6 separate regions of the Homo sapiens genome follow, and all the other regions are linked to region 2. Evidence: promoter capture Hi-C in human tissues and cell types (Jung and others, 2019). All regions are on one chromosome and are shown on one strand. Each heading gives the region's core, a stretch centred on a gene start or on the middle of the fragment in contact. The rest is flanking DNA. Distances are from core to core; before and after follow the strand shown.

The links. The method cuts DNA at HindIII sites, captures the fragments that hold promoters and counts their contacts. A contact is called where the count stands out against the background at its distance.
Region 1: a fragment that was not itself captured here is called in contact with the fragment with the promoter of SH3PXD2B in region 2 in 3 of the 25 tissues and cell types used here (heart left ventricle, mesenchymal stem cells and neural progenitor cells).
Region 3: a contact is called between the fragment with the promoter of ERGIC1 here and the fragment with the promoter of SH3PXD2B in region 2, in 3 of the 25 tissues and cell types used here (H1 embryonic stem cells, adrenal gland and mesenchymal stem cells).
Region 4: a contact is called between a fragment that was not itself captured here and the fragment with the promoter of SH3PXD2B in region 2, in 1 of the 25 tissues and cell types used here (mesenchymal stem cells).
Region 5: a fragment that was not itself captured here is called in contact with the fragment with the promoter of SH3PXD2B in region 2 in 1 of the 25 tissues and cell types used here (dorsolateral prefrontal cortex).
Region 6: a contact is called between a fragment that was not itself captured here and the fragment with the promoter of SH3PXD2B in region 2, in 1 of the 25 tissues and cell types used here (mesendoderm cells).

The regions. Positions count from the first base shown.
Region 1 is chr5:172,735,154-172,738,085 of GRCh38, reverse strand. No RefSeq gene overlaps it. Among named protein-coding and RNA genes, the nearest start is that of DUSP1, 35 kb to the left of the region's middle. The HindIII fragment of the contact is 6,850 bases long and covers 1-2,932 here.
Region 2 is chr5:172,452,950-172,455,946 of GRCh38, reverse strand. It overlaps SH3PXD2B (SH3 and PX domains 2B), which reads left to right and starts at 1,422. Exons shown (of 13, transcript NM_001017995.3): 1 at 1,422-1,669. The coding sequence starts at 1,595. RefSeq lists an enhancer at 1,935-2,456. The HindIII fragment of the contact is 19,152 bases long and covers 1-2,997 here.
Region 3 is chr5:172,832,721-172,835,639 of GRCh38, reverse strand. It overlaps ERGIC1 (endoplasmic reticulum-golgi intermediate compartment 1), which reads right to left and starts at 1,389. Exons shown (of 10, transcript NM_001031711.3): 1 at 1,207-1,389. The coding sequence starts at 1,226. RefSeq lists enhancers at 1-156, 1-643 and silencers at 627-706, 717-766, 1,137-1,536. The HindIII fragment of the contact is 25,389 bases long and covers 1-2,919 here.
Region 4 is chr5:172,754,803-172,757,740 of GRCh38, reverse strand. LOC101928093 (a long non-coding RNA gene) reads right to left here and starts at 2,238. Exons shown (of 4, transcript NR_161233.1): 1 at 2,042-2,238. The HindIII fragment of the contact is 3,300 bases long and covers 1-2,938 here.
Region 5 is chr5:172,898,928-172,902,261 of GRCh38, reverse strand. The region is part of intron 3 of ERGIC1 (endoplasmic reticulum-golgi intermediate compartment 1); the gene reads right to left. Among named protein-coding and RNA genes, the nearest start is that of MIR10523, 14 kb to the left of the region's middle. RefSeq lists an enhancer at 16-526. The HindIII fragment of the contact is 4,655 bases long and covers 1-3,334 here.
Region 6 is chr5:172,812,636-172,815,676 of GRCh38, reverse strand. No RefSeq gene overlaps it. Among named protein-coding and RNA genes, the nearest start is that of ERGIC1, 20 kb to the left of the region's middle. The HindIII fragment of the contact is 5,136 bases long and covers 1-3,041 here.

The sequences.
Region 1 (2,932 bases), core at 367-2,866, 280 kb before region 2:
AGCCTCCCAAGTAGTTGGGATTACAGGCGCACACCACCATGCCCGGCAATTTTTGTATTTTTAGTAGAAATGGGGTTTCACCATGTTGCCCAGGCTGGTCTTGAACTCCTGACTTCAAGTGATCTGCCCACCTCGGCCTCCCAAAGTGCTGGATTATAGCCATAAGCCACCGTGCGCAGCCCATTTATTTTTAAAGCAGATATTTGCTTGTTCATCTACAAATGTTTATTGAGTGTCAAGTCCTCATTAGGACACAGAGAGAAGTAAAAGTTTCCCTTGACCCTCAATTGCCTCGTAGCCTAGCACGACAGTCAGACATAAATAAATGGGAGCCCTCTCTTTGTGTGGTAGTGGGGGACCCTACAGGGCATAGTACTTCCATTCTCTCTCACATAAAATTTTCTTATTCAGAATCTACAAATACACATACACGTTACTGTAGTCGCAGGTTTGACATATGTTCTGTTCTCATGTGGGTTATATGTAATCTTACAATTTTAACTTTTCAATGTTACACGTATATTTTTGTGTCCAGAAGTGAGATATTTTATATCTTATGCTTCCATTTAACAAAATGGAAAATATACAATAGATCCTTTTTAAAAGGTACTTTTTTCTTGTGATTTTAATAGTAGTACATTTTCAATGGAGAAAATTTAGCAAATACAGAAAAAAAAAGACATGTAAATAAAGACCACTCATAACCTCACACCACCCAGAGACAGGAATATCAACATGTTGCCATCTTTCCTTCTAGTCTTCCTTCTAGGCTGTCTGCTATGTTATGTGTATTCGTATGAAGACACATGTTGTCTAACGTGGTGTTCAAGTCCAATGATACTGGTAGGGGTCTGGGTGTCCCAGCAGAGGGAAACACTTTCATAACACACCTCCCTTCCAGAGGGAGCCTCTATTTCCTTCTCTCCAGGTCACTAACTCACTCTGCAGCAGCCACTAAATGCAGGAGTCCAGGCCACTGGTCAGCCGGTGGCAGGGAGGGTTTCTGGAAGGGCCCAGGAAAGGTTCTGAGCCCAGGCCCAAGGCTGGGGAGTCTGAGTTCTTGAGCCCCACCCCTAGGAGGGTGAGGAGGTGGGGAGAGCAAGGGAATTACTGTTGGGACAGAGAGCGTCTCCCCCAGCCCCCTGAGCCAAGGCTCTAAATAAGGGCCCTGGATCCGCTGTGTCGAGCGACAGCTGAGAATCCCTGTGGCTCGGTGTCCCCACATCCGCTGCCAGAGTCACTGGGGGTGGGGGGTGGGGGGTGGGAAGTGGGGTGCTAAGGAGCCAAGACCCAGCACCCAACCTTTACCAGTGCCCCCGACAGCCTTGCTGAGCAAAGGAACTTCTCAGAGAGAGAGAAAAAAAAAAGGCCCTGGGAATGTTAAACCCAGTCTGTGAAACAGAAGTCCTGCTTCTCTCCATGGAGTGGCAGCGTAACAGTCACCATTTTTCGCCACAGTAGGAAAGAAAGAACAACCATGAGAGGGTTGGTGCTGTGACTCTTCCTGCAGAACCTTCATGACAGCTCTAGGAGGTAGGCGTCCCTGTCCCCATGACAGCAAGGTGGAATCTGAGGCTGGGAGCAGAGGTGACTTGCCCATGGTCACACAGGGCTGGGGTGACTCCCCATGCTCTCCTGTCCCTGCTCCTGCCCGCCCCTGGCCCTGTGTGGGGCTTCCCTCTCTCCAGGCACCGCGCAACCTGCCTGATGGACTTCACCGCCCCGGGTCCCCACCTCTCCCTATCCCTGTGCAGGCAGGAAACACGGGCTCCTCATCTCGGCTTCCCAGCAGCCCCAGTCTGGCCCTCCCATAGAAATATTTATCTAGTGAATGAATAAACACAGAGGGGGCCCTGCACATAAAACCAGGCCGGCCGGGACAGCATCCTCCAGCACAGGCTCTCCACGCCTCATGTGCAGATGCACACATGTGTGTATGTTTATGCGTGTGTGTGTGTGTGTGTGTGTGTGTGTGTGTGTGTGTGCATGCAGGTATGTGTGTGGGGAGCCAGGGGGTGGAGTGGAGTGGTTGGACACACAGACTCGAGAGCCAGACTGCCTGGGTCTGAATCCCAGCTTCTCAGCTGTGTGCCGTTGGGCAAGTGGCTGTCCCTCTCTGTGTCTGTCTTTGCCTCTGTGAAATAGTGGAGGGATAAATAGTCTCTGCCTCATCATTCATGCATGAGCGCTGGTATAGGAGTTAGTCCAGTGCCTGGCACAGAGCAAAAGCTTTTAGAATGCAACAAATTATTGGGGAAACTGAGTCAAGATCACCAGATGAAGTGACTTTATGACTTGTGCAGGGGAGAGGCCACGTGCACCAAGAGGCTTTTGCGAGGAGGTCACACCAGAATTGTTCTGGAACTCTCCTGCCTGCAAGCCTTCGATGGCTCCTCCGCTGTCCTCAGAGCAGTCCAGAGGGGGTTCGTTGGTTGCCTGCAGGGCTCCCAAGGCTCCCTGTGGGCTGGAACCCTGCCCATCTCTGGGGTTTGCCTCTGTGACCCTGCTCTGTTCCCACCTTCCCCACCACGGCCTCCATCCCTTCCTGCAAGTGGATCAGCCCAAACCCTGGAGCTGTGTTGATGACTTTATCTCCCTCCCACCTAGGCCTGCCTCGCAGCTCTTCCTCCAAAATATATGCTGGCTCGGCTGCCGCCCACCCCTCCAGGGCCCACCCCTCAGGACTGCCCAGTTGTCTCTCGCCTGGCCTCAAGTCCCTGCTGGGCTTCCATCCTTGGCCACAAGGCAGCCAGAGGGGTCCTTTGAAAATATGGCTCTGAGAGTCCCACCTCCCCAACACGCTTGGGGGACACCTCCAATGCCTGGCTGGTACACCAAGCCCTAGCTGCTCAGGCCCTGCCACCCCCTCCCTGCCTTCACTCTCTTTGCTTTACCCTGCAGGCCTCCCTCCCAGGTGCCCGCAGAGCCTGGG
Region 2 (2,997 bases), core at 173-2,672:
CAAAGTGAATCAGCCCAAATCATCCACGTGGCCTGGCCGAGGCTGAGAGCCGTCCTACCCTGGATAAGCCCACCCTTTTCCAAAGGCTGATCCTGGACCGGGGTGGGAAGTAGCTCTGTCGTGGCATGGAGAAGAGTCGTACGGTTTGTTGAAAAGAGCCCCCACTTACTGGCTGTGAAAACACTGGCCAGGAGCCTAAACCTCCCATCCATGCATTATATATTCATTTATCCATTCATTCAGCCAACATCTCCTGAAAGTGACTCAGTGCCCAGCCAGTGCTAGGAGGCACTAGATGAAGAAACGAGGAGCTGCCCCAGCCACGGCAGCTTCAACGTGTGAGATCCACCTAGAGCCAGGCAGTGACGGGCTCCATCCACCGGCTCCCTGACTCTGGACCTTCACTGATGTAATTCCTGTAAGGCACATTCTTCTGAAGTACAGTTCCCAAGTCAGAGGGTCCTCAGGCCTCATTGGAAATGTCCAAATGTCTGGAGGCCGTCCTCTGTAAAAACACCTTTTCCTCCTAGAGTCTGCCTGAGGATGCAAAGACAGCATTTGTGAAAAGCAGGGGCCACGGGGCCCAGCGAGCAGTTAAGTGCTCCGCAACTGGAAATCGATGGCCTTGCTAACAAGCACCCAGCTGCCCCTCACACATAGTCACCACCCTTTTATCCCCTTTTGTTGCTTCCATGGCAATTACATTGCACGTATGCGCATTTGTTGCAGTTTTTCTCTCCCTCACTCCCCATGTCCCAGACTGAGGCTGGGGGAACCTGGTCACGGGTCTCTTGCTCCTCCTGAATCACCAGGGCTTGGGGTGGCTTTAGGAACGCCAGCACTCATACCATGGACTGCACTGCGGAATGGCTTCACATGCACTTAATCCCGGGCGCAGCACCGGCAGGCAGGCGGTACTACTGACACGTGCTACAACATGGATGAGCCTTGAGGACATTATGCCGAGTGAAATAAGCCAGACACAAAAAGACAAACATGGTGCTTGTACTACTAGGCTCATATTATAGACGAAGAGACCCAACCCAGAGAGGTTAAGCAACTTGCCGAGGGCACAGAGTGGAAAAGCGGCAAAGCCGGGATTCGAACCCGGGTGTCCGGCTCTCCAAACTGGCGGTGGATGGCGGCTGCCGGAGCGAGAGTGCTGGAATGAATCGATACGTCAATCAGTGAACGGGCGACGGGGTCAGTCCAGTCCCCTCCCCCGGCGCGGCGGCTCAGCACCGGGACAAAGGCCGGGCGGGGGCCGGACGTGGCCGGCGGGGTTCGCGCGCGGTGGGCGGGGGTCGGGGCCGGGCCCTTTAAGGGGGGCGGGCCGGCGGCGCGGGGGGCGGTGCGGGGGGCGGTGCGGGGGGCGGTGCGGGGGGCGGGCCGGGGGCGGGCGGCGGCGGCTGGGCCCGGCTGGAGTGCGCGCCGAGCGAAGGGCGGCGGCGGTGGCGGCGGCGGCTCGTGCTCGGCCCCGGCTGCGATTGCGCTCAGCTCCAGGTTCCCTGCCCGCGGCGGCGCGCCCCCAGCGCTCCCTGCACCCCGCGCCACCCGCACCCGCGCTCGGCCCGCTGCGGGCGGAGGAGCGGCCATGCCGCCGCGGCGCAGCATCGTGGAGGTGAAGGTGCTAGACGTGCAGAAGCGGCGGGTGCCCAACAAGCATTATGTGAGTGCGGCGCGGCCCCCACGCCCCCTTGAGCCCGCGCCCCGTCGGGGGCGACCGAGGGCCCCCGGCTTGGAAAACTTCTGCCTCCAGCGCTTCCCGTCCCCTCCTCCCCTGCTCTCCCCTCGGCTCTGCGGCGGCGCTGCCCGGGTCCCTCCCGACTCCTCCTCCCTCCCTCCCCTCCCCTCCCCGCTTTTGCCTCGTTCTCCCCCTCCATCCCTTCCTCCCGCCTCGCCCCCCTACTCGCCTCCCTGCGGCTCCTCTACCCCTTTCTGTCTTCTCCGTGTCCCCCCAACTCCCGTCCTGCTCATCTGTGGAAAAGTCTGGCTCCAGCCGGTGAGGGGTCTGAGACAGAAAGCGGGAGAGACAGAAGTGCCTGTTCTCAGGCCGCCCGCCTTGCCCCTCCTTGTCCAGAGGCGCGCAGACCCGCAGTCCCCAGCCACAGGTAGCCCCTCTAGGGTTCGCCGAATTTGACTCCGTTCTTTGGCAAGAGCCGGCCTGGGCGATGGAGGAGATCTCTGGGAATGGATCATTTGAGTGGCTACGCCTTTAAAGGGTTAAAAACATCCCCTGCCCCCTCTCTCCAGTAACTTCTGTTTTAAAATGTACGAAAGTTTTCTCCTGGCATCTCCCTCTGGAACATGGGAATCTTGTTTGGAGCTGGCAAGGACTTGAGAAAATGGGACAGTAGCGTCGTTTTGCAGATAGGAAGGCTGAGGCTCAGAGGTTGCAGGTCCTGGAACATAGAGCTGCATTCGGGCTTCCCTCCCTCCAGCAGGGGTGCCTGGGGCTGACGGTGACCTGCAGGTGGAAAGTGGCTTCCGCAGCAACCTAGGGGACACGTCTGCAGATTCAGGAGGCCCTGGGACCACCTCGCAGGTTCTAGGTGGAGATAAAGGGGATGTGGGGTGATGGGCCCACATGAGGCCTTGGGGAGGGCCTCATTACAGCAGGGAAGGGGGCTATAGTGTCTCTGGCGGTGAGAAGTGGGCAGTGGCGGAGCCTGGCTGCAGAGAAGTTAACCAGGAAGGGAAAAAGAGTAAGAGGGAGGGAAAAAATCCTAACAAAGAAGTATAGAACAATGAATAGAAAAGGGCGTTGGCTGGCTAAATTAAGCTCCTTGGCCTCCCTGGAAGTCGTCTTCAGATCTTTTTTTTTTAAGAACTAATTCTTACAAAGTAGATCTGCATGCCTTCCGTGAATAGCCTGTGAAATTCTGAAAGGAGATAGCCGGGAACCCACTCCGCGCTCTCCACAAGAAAGGGTGTGCTGTGTGAGTCTGTATTGTTATTGGCTGGGCAGCCAGTTATTCAGCCCTTAGCCAGGCGGTG
Region 3 (2,919 bases), core at 140-2,639, 380 kb before region 2:
CACTTTACACTGCCTTCACATGCAAGAAGAGGGGAAGAAATACCTCCTGTGGCACAGGCATCTGAATCACTATTTTGTGGATGTGGAAAACCCCTCCTGGAGAACACCCCCCATCCACTAATGCCCTATTTCTGAGCTCTAAATCATGCCAGACTCTGCTAAGGGTGTTTCACGCACTCAGTCGTCACAAGCGGAGACCTTATTTTTAGCCCCAATTTGCAGGTGGTGAAACTGAGGGCGCTCGGAGACTTGCTGAGGTCAGCCAGCCGAGCGGCGACAGGGAGTTCTGAACCCAGAGCCTTTGCCCCTAACTTCTAGAATATACCGAGCTGTTCAGTAGAAAGGGCAGAGCCAGGATTCTAATCCAGCTCCTCCCTGCATTAAAGCCCTGCTCTTTTCCCAGCCAGACACCAAGTGTGGCTGCCTCAGGCCAGGACATCCCCTGGGGCTCCACACCTCAAGGGAACCTCTGGTGGAGATCTCTTCCCCCGCAGGCTTCCAGAATGCCCCATGCAACCTAGACCATGAGGCAGCTGGACCCCACAAAGGACCCATTGTGGTGACTGCAGAAAGCCAAGGCCAGACCCCGGTGGCCCTTCTGCAGAGTCCTGCCCAAGGCGCCTCCTCCCCTTCCCATGGTGCCCCCATACCCAGCGGACAGGGCTGGGGCTGAGGGAGGGAGGGGCGGGGGCAGGCCTCCCGATCTGCCCGGCCTGGGGGAGCCTCAGGCTATAGAAACTTAAAACCCTCCAGCTGCCGGCAGGCTGCATGGGGCCCCAGGCCCCTCCGGACTCATTCCAGGTGCCCTGCCCCACCTGTCAGCTGAGGTGGGGTCCACCAAGGAGGCTCAGTAGAGGGAGGAGAGGGATGCTGGGGTGTTATGGGCTGTTCCCATCTGGGAGGAGGGAGGAAATGTTTCCTAGTGTGGGGGAGGGGAATGCAAGGTATCCGGGCAGGCTGGGGAGGGGGCTCGGCGGAGGGAAGGTGGGTGGATTTGTCTCCCGCTGCACGAGGGGGCCTCCGCGGCTCTGGCTGGCTTCGTGTGCGGCAGGGGGGGGGCTCGCCTGGGGTCCCTAGGGGCCTGCGGAGGCATGCACAGGGCGGGGAGCCGCTTTTGCATGCAGGGCGGGAGGGGTCCGCGGCGTGCCGGGGCGCTCCCTCTGCCCGCTGAGGGAACTCCCGACTGGCCGGGGTCGCCACACTCACCTCCTGAAGTCAAAGGGCATCGTGCCGCCGCCGGGGGTGGGAGCGCTGCAGGCCAGGCGGGCCGCGGCGCCGCGTGGGTCCGAGCCCGCTGCCAACGCCTCCTCCGGCCGCCCCGCCCCCGCCGGCCGCCCCCCTGACACTCGCCACTCGCCACTCGCCACTCGCCTCCCGCTGCCGGGAAGTGACGCTCCGCGCAGCCCATTGGGCGCCGCCCGCCCGGCCGCCCCTTCCGCCACCCGGTTAAAGGGGCCCGCGGGCAGGCAGGGAAGGGGCGGAGAGTCGAGGCTGTCGGAAGGGAAGGGAGTCCCCCAAAGACTCCAGTACTCATTCCTTCAAGCCTCCCACTTAGATTTCCTTCTCCATCTCTTTGGATGCCCTCGGACAAATTCTCTGCTTCTCCGAGCCCAGTTTTTTGCATTTGTAAACAGTTTCACTGAACTGTGATTGAGTTGGGGGCGGGGGGCGGGGTGATACAGACTTTGGCCGTGCACAGCGTCTAGCTCTGAGTGAGGGCCTAATACTGTGGGGGAAGGGAAGAGGTCGGCCATCCTAGGCTGTTAAGGTGGACTCACCTCTGCCCCTGCCGTGTCTCTCTGGGAAAGCCACTGGGCTTCTCAGAGCGCCCCCCCCCCGCCCCGCCCCTTTTGCATATCTGCACAAAGAGGACGATGACACCTACTTGAGGGGGTTTTCCTGGGGATCAGCTGAGAAACAGGAGACTGGCTTAGCACAGTGCCAGGCACCTGAAACTATTGAGGCTGGCAGTGGCTGTCCCTGCTTCCATCTGCCCCTGTCGTTCACTCCAGTGGGCATTCACAGAGCATCTGCTCTGAACCAGGTCCATCGAGAACATGCAGGGTTGTGGCAGAGGCAGATGGGACCTGCACTGTGACTTGGCCAACGTGGACTGTGCCGATTGTCTCCTTCTTAGAGCCTCAGTTTCCTCCTCAGGAATACAGAGCAGCTGCCTCCGTGACTGCTGGATTAGAGGAGATGGTAGTTGAGGTCACACAAGACCTGAGTAGGGGAAACTCACTCTGAACTTCCCCGAGGTTCTGTCACTGGCCCTTTCTCCAAGGTTGTGGTGGGACAGGGCTTCAAAAAACCCAGGGGAGAATGGTGAGGGCTCGGGTTCCAAAAGCAGAGTCAATGGACAGTTTCCCCCTGTGTAAATAGAGGGGAACAGCAGTGCTGGTTCCTCCGGGAGGATTCAGAAGGGACAACACTAGCACGGGGTCTGGGGTAGGGTGACGTGGTGAACCAAAGCCTTCCCCTAGAGCATATGCCGGGACCTGACCTCTGCGTTCCCTTTTCATTCATTCACTCATTCATTCATTCATTCATTCAGTGTCAGTGGTCTGACACTGTTGGGGGAGAAAAGGAAATCTCAGCCTGAACTGGAAACCTAGGGACAGCAGGGAGAGTTAAGGGATCTTGAGCAGCCACTGCTTCCAAACAGCCATTCGTTGGCCCTGTGTGGGAGGAAACATGCAATGATGGATCTTTGACCTCGAATCCTCCCTCCTCAAACTGTGGTCCACAGACCAGCCACATGGCCATCACAGGACAGACTCTTGTCCCCAGGCCAGACCTACTGAATCAAGTGTGCATTTGGGATGATATCCAAGGTCAGCAAATGCCTGGCACAGAGTAAATGCAAGACAGGGTTGACTATCATTGCTCTTTTCGAGTGGGGATAGAGCTCCCAACTTT
Region 4 (2,938 bases), core at 240-2,739, 300 kb before region 2:
GGGCCCTGCATGGGACGCTGGGTGCACAGGGATGGGAGAGACACGGTTTCTGACCTCAGGCTCTCCTGGCAAGTGGTGGAGACTGATGCATTGGCCCATGATTTTGCCACAGTGATCTGGGGGCTGTAGGTGAGGTGCGGGCAGAGCAAGGGGGTGGAGAAATGCAGGGAAGAGTGGGCAGAGGAGAGAACAATACAGGAAGGCTTCCTGGAAGAGGTGACCCTTGAGCCCTAGAAGGCTGAGCACGTGGCACAGGAAGGACTCCCATCTCAAGTGTCGAGGGATGACCTGATGCCAATTTATTGCTGTTCCATAGATTTTATAAGAGGAATAAAGGCCTCAGGACTTGTTCCAGGCCCAACCTTCTTCCCTAGAACTGAATTCCCAAGAGCCCTCATGAGGGTCCCTGCCCTTATGCTGCTATTTTACGCAAAAAGGATCAGAGCCCCGTGTCCCCTGCGGTGGGTGTTTCAGAGTGTGGGCACCGGGCTGCTCTGAAGCCAAGGAAATGACCAGCCGGGAAGAAGGACTGGAAAGCACTAGCCTGTCCGCTGGCCCCAGCTTCCCTCAATGTCATCATCGGATGAGCAGTTTAGGCTGTTCTCCCTTCACCATGAGCCAGAGGAAGGGTCTGTTGTAGGTTTCACTGGCCACTCTCCTTCGTCGTGTCCTCATCATCATCAATGACTTAAGACTTTCTGAGCCATAGCCAAAGACTTCAGGCAGCAGCTTTGTGTTCTAGCCCCAAGTGTAGCATTTCCTTGCTGTGTGACTCTCAGCAAGTTACATCACCTCTCTGGGCTTCAGATTCCTACTTATCTGCTTTATTTTTTGAGACAGGTCTCACCCAGTATTTGCTTTACATATGTGACTGATTTAGTACATCCATCTAGCCTGCTTGGTGGGCTTATTATTATTGCCACGTTTAGCAAACCATTGATAGAGTTTGGATGTTTTGTCCCCTCCAAATCTCACCTTGAAATGTGACCTCCAGTATTGGAGGTGGGGACTAGTGGGAGGTGTTTGGGCCATGGGGGTGGGTTCGTCCCTCATGAATGGCTTGGTGCTGTCCTCGGGGTAATGAGTGAGTTCTTTTTTTTTTTTTTGAGACAGAGTCTCGCTCTGTCACCCAGGCTGGACAGTGCAATGGCTTGATCTCGGCTCACTGCAAACTCCGCCTACTGGGTTCAAGTGATTCTCCTGCCCCAGCCTCCTGAGTAGCTGGGATTACAGGCACCCACCACCACATCGGGCTAATTTTTGTATTTTTAGTAGAGACAGGGTTTCACCATGTTGGCCAAGCTGGTCTTGAACTCCTAACCTCAAGTGATCCGCCTGCCTCGGCCTCCCAAAGTGCTGGGATTACAGGCATGAGCCACTGTGCCCAGCCAAGTGAGTTCTGACTACGAGTTCACGTGTGATCTGGCTGTTTATTTATTTATTTATATATTTTTTAAGATGGAGTCTCACTCTATTGCCCAGGCTGGAGTGCAGTGGCATGATCTCGGCTCACTGCAATCTCTGCCTCCTGGGTTCTAGCAATTCTCCTGCCTCAGCCTCTCCAGTAGCTGGGATTATAGGCAACTGCCACCATGCCAGGCTAATTTTTGTATATTTAGTACCGACGGGATTTCACCATGTTGGCCAGGCTGGTCTTGAACTCCTGACCCCAAGTGATCTGCCTGCCTTGGCCTCCTTAAGTGCTGGGATTATAGGTATGAGCCACTGCACCTGCCGAGATCTGGCTATTTAAAAGAGCCTGGCCCTTCCTCCCTCTCCCTCTTGTACCCTCTCACCATTTGATACACAGGCTCCTTCCTTTAGCTTCCACCATGACTAGAAGCTTCCAGAGGACTCACCAGAAGCTGAGCAGATGCTGGCACCATGCTGCCTGTACAGCCTGCAGAGCTGTGGGCCAAATAAACCTCTTTTCTTTATAAATTACCCAGTCTTGGGTATCCCTTTATAGCAATGCAAAACAAACTAATACACCATGTCACCTGGAGGGAGTAGCTGAGGCCTGGAGAAGGAGAGGACTTACCCACAGCTCAGGTTTAACACAGTGTGTGGTCCAAGACCTAAGCCTGGCAGGGCCTTCCACTGTACCAGGCAAGACAAGGGTGAATCCCACCCTCACTCAGGGGCCTAACATCCCCTTTAAGGTTGGGGAAAGTAGGAAGTACCAAGGATGGCACTAAATGAGAAGCTCCCCCAAGGACTCCTAGAATAAAGGTTCATGTGTCCTGTGTCCTCAGCACTTGATAGACCACTTACAGACCATTGTGACAGACCATTGTGATGCTGACTATGTAGAGATTCACAGACCACTGTGACACTGACTATGTAGAGCAGAAAGGCTGGTTGTTCCCCAGGCTCTAGTCTTCCTTAGTAATAGGCTTTTGGCCAGGTATATGTCCACATTCCCCAGCCTCTCTTACAGCCAGACATAGCTGTTTGAATGTCAAACCTAATGTGTGTGCAACTTCCAGGGAGTGTCCTTAAAGAGAGGGCTGATACATTTCTTCCCTGTTTTGTCCTTCCTGTGGTCTGGAATACAGAGTGATGGCTGGAGCTGAGGCAGCCATTTTTAGCCATGAAGTGATGTCGGGAATGACGGCAGAGCAGAAAGACAGAGGGAGTCTCCTTCCCTTAGGACTGTTGAGGGGCAATTCTCCATGGCATTCTTATACCTCTTGTGACACCTTTTGCGTGGAACCATCTTTTCAGGATGTTTATATGACAAATAGCCTGGGGGAGCAGGAATAGTGTCTCACTCTGGAGCAGAGGACAGATTTATTTCCTGACCAGGATTATAAAGATAATGCCTTTCTCCAGGTTGAATGTTGACCGGGTTCGTTAGCAGCCTCTTATGCTTATAAGATTAGGAGTTTCCTAAGCTCAGTATATCTCAGCTCTGACATGAGCCCTGTGTGCACAG
Region 5 (3,334 bases), core at 641-3,140, 450 kb before region 2:
CCTCCAGGTGACCTCCAAGCTCCCACCTCCCAGGCTTCCATCTGCCTGTTTGGCCACCTCACCCTAGAAGGGTGCATCCAAGTCCTCCAGTCAACTATTCTGATCAAAAAGCAGTGGCTCCCATGAGCCTGGGGCCCTGAAATGCTGGGGCCAGGGAAGTGGGGTACAACAGAGGGGAGGTGCTGAGCCTGGGCTTCAGCATCACAGACCCGTGTTTGACTCCAGTTACACCACTTAGTGCTTCATGTGGTTTTGGCCGCCTGGTGCCTCAGTTTCCCCAGCTGTAACATGGGGTGAACAGTAGTAGTTGCCTCAAGGGGTTCTGCGATGACCAATGAGATGACCATCATGAAGTGCTGACCTGCCGGGGGCAGCCTGCATGCCTATAATCCCAGCACTTTGGGAGGCCAAGGTGGGAGAATTGCTTGAGCCCAGAAGTTTGAGACCAGCCTGGGTAACATACAGGGAGACCCCTGTCTCTACAAAGAATTAAAAAATTAGCCAGGCATGGTGGCTCATGCCTGTAGTCCCAGCCACTCGGGAGGCTGAGGCAGAAGGATCGCCCTGGAGGTCGAGGCTACATTAAGCCATAATTGAGCCACTGCCCTCCAGCCCGGGCAACAGAATGAGGCCCTGTTTCAAAAAACAAACAAACAAAAAATAAAAATAAAAATAAAGTGCTGACCTAGGTGTTGGCATGCACACTATAAATCCATGAGTTATAGTATGGAAGGTACCATGAGTTATATTACATTATAAACTATCAGTGGAGAGTTCCAGTTACTATATTTTATTAGTATAAATCCTCATGAGGTTAATAATTATTCAGAGCAGTCAGAGACTGGGCAGTCAGAGGCTGGAACATTCTGTGGCCAGGTTGCCTGAGGAGGGGCCTGCTCCCTGAAAACACGGAGTTTCAGAACACTCTGTGGGGCCTCTTTCCCAAGGATAATTAACGGCCTGTCCAAAGCCAGGTTGGAGCCCAACCACCCAAACAAATGTGCCTCCCCCTCACCCCCCACCAGGCCCAGGCCAGAATAAGCGTCTTATGTCACTGATAACCACAGGCTGGGGCTGGAGCCATGTTGATCCAACCAACGGTGACCTCATTTCCTTAAGTTACAATCTCATGGTGGCGGGAGGGGGCACTGACCCCACTGTGGCCACAAACCTGCCACAGAGGGCCAGCCACCCAGAAGACGAGAACTGTGACCTTCAGTTGTTCCCAAACCTGTAGGGCTTCCTGGGGGCCACAAGCTTCTGACAACTGGAAGACCCCAAAGATGTGATGCTTTCTCCTCTCGATTGCTCTGTAAGTCTTAGGGCTCATCCTGCGGAGGCCCTTCGGGCAACTCCTATACCTTAGTAAGGAGGGAAGGGGACATTAGGGTCACTGCATCTTCATAGCTGGAGCATCTGGCCTCAGCTCCGGACAGATCTCTCTATTCATCTCTGCCTCCCTCCCTCTCTCCAGCCGCTGACTTAGCACAGGGTTGGACTCAAGGCAAATGCTCAAAAAATGTCCTCATGTTTTTTTTTGTTTTTTTTTTTTGAGATAGGGTCTCGCTCTGTCTCCCAGGCTGGAGTGCCGTGGTGCAATCATGGCTCACTGCAGCCTGGATCTCTTGAGCTCAAGTGATCCTCCCACCTCAGCCTCCCAAGTAGCTGGGACTACAGGTGTGTGTGTCCACGGCTAACTAATGTTTTTAAAATTTTTTTGCAGAGACAGGATCTCACTGTGTTGTCCAGGCTGGTCTCGAACTCCTGGGCTAAGTGATCCTCTGGCCTTGGCTTTTCAAAGTGCTGGGATTACAGGTGTGAGCCACTGCACCTGGCCCCCTTCCTCCCCTCATCCCTAAGCTTTGTACCTCTCCAGGGACTCGGTGGGATCAGAGCGTCCGGGATGCCGCTGGGAGAGAGGGAGAGGAAGTCCTGGCACGGGGGAATGGGGAGCAGTGGGAACACACTGTGCTCTTCAGAAAGAAGCAGCCCTGCCCTTGGGAAGCTGCATGAGTTGTCTGGGCTTGCTGGAAGGGCCCTTCCCCAATGCTCCCGGGCATTCTGCGGGTGGGGCCCCACCTGCTCGAGCCTCAAGCTGTGACGTCAAAACTCACTTGTTGGCAGCCCATTGCCTCAGTGCCCCACCTCATGTGGGATGAGCTGGGAATGCCACCCCACACGCTGTCAGCAGCAGGCAAGAGAGGCATCTTCTTAACTCAAAGCGGAAGAGGGGACAAGGAATTCACATTCCCTGAGTACTTATATGCCTGGTGCGGAGCGGCCTTAAAACCTTTTTAGAGTTAGATGCAGACTATGTAGGAAATGAATAAATGCACGAAGAGATATGGACCTTATGATATTAAAGTATAGCCGCACTATATTAAGTTAGCTTTCAGCTAAATAATCTTGTTTGATCCTCATAAAATATCATGTACCTGCAGCCATCTCATTTTCTACCTCCTGCCCTGCTTTAGTTCTTGTCTTTGGAGTACTTGCCCCTGATCGATACAGTCTAGTTTTGTTTGCTTGTTGACTGTGTCTACCACTGGCGTTTTCAGCTCCTCCATGTGTGGAGCCACAGAGCAGTGAGTGTGCAGGTCCAGCCCTGGGCTCCACGAGCTCATCATCAAGAAGTGAGTCCCAGGCTAGGCGCAGTGGCTCACGCCTGTAATCCCAGCCTGGGATTACAGGCTGAGGCGGGTGGATCATTTGAGGTCAGGAGTTCGAGACCAGCCTCACCAAAATGGTGAAAGGCTGTCTCTACTAAAAATACAAAAATTAGCTGGACATGGTGGTGCTTGCCTGTAATTCCAGTTACTCAGGAGGCAAAGCACAAGAATCTCTTGAACTCGGGAGGCGGAGCTTGCAGTGAGCCGAGATCACGCCACTGCACTACAGCCTGGACGACAGAGCGAGACTCCGTCTCCAAAAAAAAAAAAAAAAAAAAAAAGAAGTAACTCCCAATTCTACCTGGCAGCTCAGAAGGCCTGGCCCCTCTCCGTCCTGCCTGCTCTACCTCCTACCCTCTCCGCTTGCTCACTTTGACCTGGCTGATTGGCCTTCTTCCTGCCTTCACATACACCAGGTCATCCCTGCCTGAGGCCCTTTGCACCTGCTGGTGTCCTGCCCACAGCACATAAAGCCACCTGCCTGGTGCCTGGTCTCAGCAGATGACACATGTGTGCCTCTGTCACCTTGCTCAGAACATGACAGGCCTGCCAAGCCAAGCAGGTCCCCTCCTAGAGGGTGGGGTACAGCCTGCAGAGGCCAGTGGGTGCCTGGCATACAACAGGTACCTCATAACATTAGCAAGTCTCAACCTCTTGCCGCTCTC
Region 6 (3,041 bases), core at 507-3,006, 360 kb before region 2:
CTTTTTTTCGTTATAAAAGTACAAAAGACTATTTTAAAAATACAAAAAGTAGAAAGTAAAAAGAAAGTCCCCCTACTGAGACACCATTAAATTTAGAGTTCTTCCAGGCTTTTTTCTATATATTGCATTTTAAAATAATTATGTGCTATCATTCAGATACCAAAAAGTGTATATAACACATATGTGTAAATTAAAGAACAAATGTAGAATGAATACCCATGTATCCATCACCCAGCTTAAGAAATAGATCATCATCAATATCCAAGAAGCCCTCTCATGCCCCACTCTGATCATGTGCCTCTTTCTACCCACCCTGAGTAGCCACCGTCTTGAATTTGTGCAAATCGTTCTTTTTTTTTTTTTTTTTTTTTAGACAAGGTCTTGCTCTGTTGCCTTGGCTGGAGTGCAGTGGCATAATCACGGCTCACTGCAGCCTCGACCTCCTGAGCTCAAGCAATTCTCCTGCCTCAGCCTCCTGAGTAGCTGGGACTACAGGCATGCGCCACCATGCCTGGCTAATTTTTTATTTGTTGTAGAGACAGAGTTTCACCATGTTTCCCAGGCTGGTCTCACACTCCTGAACTCAAGCAATCCTCCCACCTCGGCCTCCCAAAGTGCTGAGATTACAGGTGTGAGTCACCACGCCTGGCCCCTTTGCTTTTCTTTATATAGTTTTACGATAGATAGATAGATAGATAGATAGAGTCCCAAAATGATGTAATGTTTTTTACCTTTATATATAATTGGATTGTATTATTTTGTAATTTGCCCTTTTCATGTATTGTGTTTGTGAGATTCACCCGTGTTGATGGTGCAGGTTTAGATCATTCATTGTCATTGCTGTACAATAATACACCGTATGAATATACTGTATTTATCTATGCTCCTGCTGATATACATGTGGGTGGTTTCCAGGAATTTTTTTTTTATCTTTAAAACATTTTATTAAGCTAAATGATTACTGGTATTTTTCTATTATGATATACACATGTACATACAGCATATACATGTGTATATGTTGTATACATGTGTATATATGTCTATACTCTGTCTATATATATAAACATTTACCTTTTTAGCCATTGCTTTCTTTCTTTCTTTTTTTTTTTTTTTTTGGAGACAGTTTCACTCTTGTCTCCCAGACTGGAATGCAGGGGCAAAACCTCAGCTCACTGCAACCTCTGCCTCCCAGGTTCATGCCATTCTCCTGCCTCAGCCTCCCGAGTAGCTGGGACTACAGGCGCCTGCCACCATGCTCGGCTAATTTTGGTATTTTTAGTAGAGATGGGATTTCTCCATGTTGGCCAGGCTGGTCTTGAACTCCAGACCTCAAGTGATCCACCTGCCTCGGTCTTCCAAATGCCAGGATTACAGGTGTGAGCCACCACCCCCAGCCTCATTTTAGCCATTTTTAAGTGTATAGTTCAGTGGTATTAAGTACATTCACATTGTTGTACAACCATTGCCACCATCCATCTCCAGAATTTTTCATCTTCCCAAACTAAAACTCCGCACCCATTAAGCCATAACTCTCCATTCCTCTCTCCCCTCAGCCTTTGGCAACCAGCATTCTACCTTCTGTCTCTATGAATTTGACAACTTTAGGGACCTCATATAAGTGGAATGATACAGTATTTGTCTTTTTGTGAGTCTAGCTTGTTTCACTTAGCATAACGTCCTCAAGGTTCATCCATGTTGTTGCATATGTCAGAATTTCCTTCCTTTTGAGGCTGAAAGATATTCTATTATATGTATATACCATATTTTGTTTATTTATCCATTGATGGACATTTGGGTTGCTTCCACCTTTTTTAGCTATTGTGAAGAATGCTGCTATGACCATCAGTATAAAATATCTGTTTGAGTTTCTGCTTTCAATTTTTTTTTTTTTTTAACATTCCCGCTCTGTTGCTCAGGCTGGAGTGCAGTGGCACAATCTCAGTTCACTGCAACCTCTGCCTCAAGAGAGTTCAAGCGATTCTCTTGCCTCAGTCTCCCAAGTAGCTGGGATTACAGGTGTGTACGACCACACCCGGCTAATTTTTGCATTTTTAGTAGAGACGGGGTTTCGCCATGTTCAGGCCAGGCTGGTCTCGAACTACTGGCCTCAAGTGATCTACCTGCCTCGGTGTCAGGCCTCTGAGCCCAAGCTAAGCCATCATATCCCCTGTGACCTGCACGTATACATCCAGATGGCCTGAAGTAACTGAAGATCCACAAAAGAAGTGAAAATAGCCTTAACTGATGACATTCCACCATTGTGATTTGTTTCTCCCCCACCCTTAAGAAGGTTCTTTGTAATTCTCCCCACCCTTGAGAATGTACTTTGTGAGATCCACCCACTGCCCGCAAAACATTTCTCCTAACTCCACCTCCTATCCCAAAACCTGTAAGAACGAATGATAATCCCACCACCCCTTGCTGACTCTCTTTTTGGACTCAGCCTGCCTGCACCCAGGTGATTAAAAAGCTTTATTGCTCACACAAAGCCTGTTTGGTGGTCTCGTCACACGGACGCGTGAGACACTTGGCCTCCCAAAGTTCTGGGACTACAGGCTTAAGCCACCGCCCCAGACCCCTGCTTTCAGTTATTTTGGGTGTATTCTCAAAAGTGGAATTTCTGGATCATATGGTAATTCTATGTGTAATTTTTTGAGGATCCACAGTGTGTTTTCCACAGTCTCTGCACCATGCTACATTTCCCACCAGTAGTGCACAAGCATTCTAATTTCCCCACATGCTCACCAACACCTGTTATTTTCTGGCATTTTTATTTAAAATTTTTTTTTTATCATAGCCATCCTAATGTATGTAAAATGGTCCCAGAATTTTATTTATTTTTTTGAGATGAAGTCTCATTCTGTCACCCAGGCTGGAGTGCGATAGCACAATCTCGGCTCACCACAACTTCTGCCTCCCAGGTTCAAGTGATTCTCCTGCCTCAGCCTCCCAAGTAGGTGGAACTACAGACACGCACCACCATGCCAGGCTGATTTTTGTGTTTTTAGTAGAGACAGGGTTTCACCATGTTGGCCAGGCTG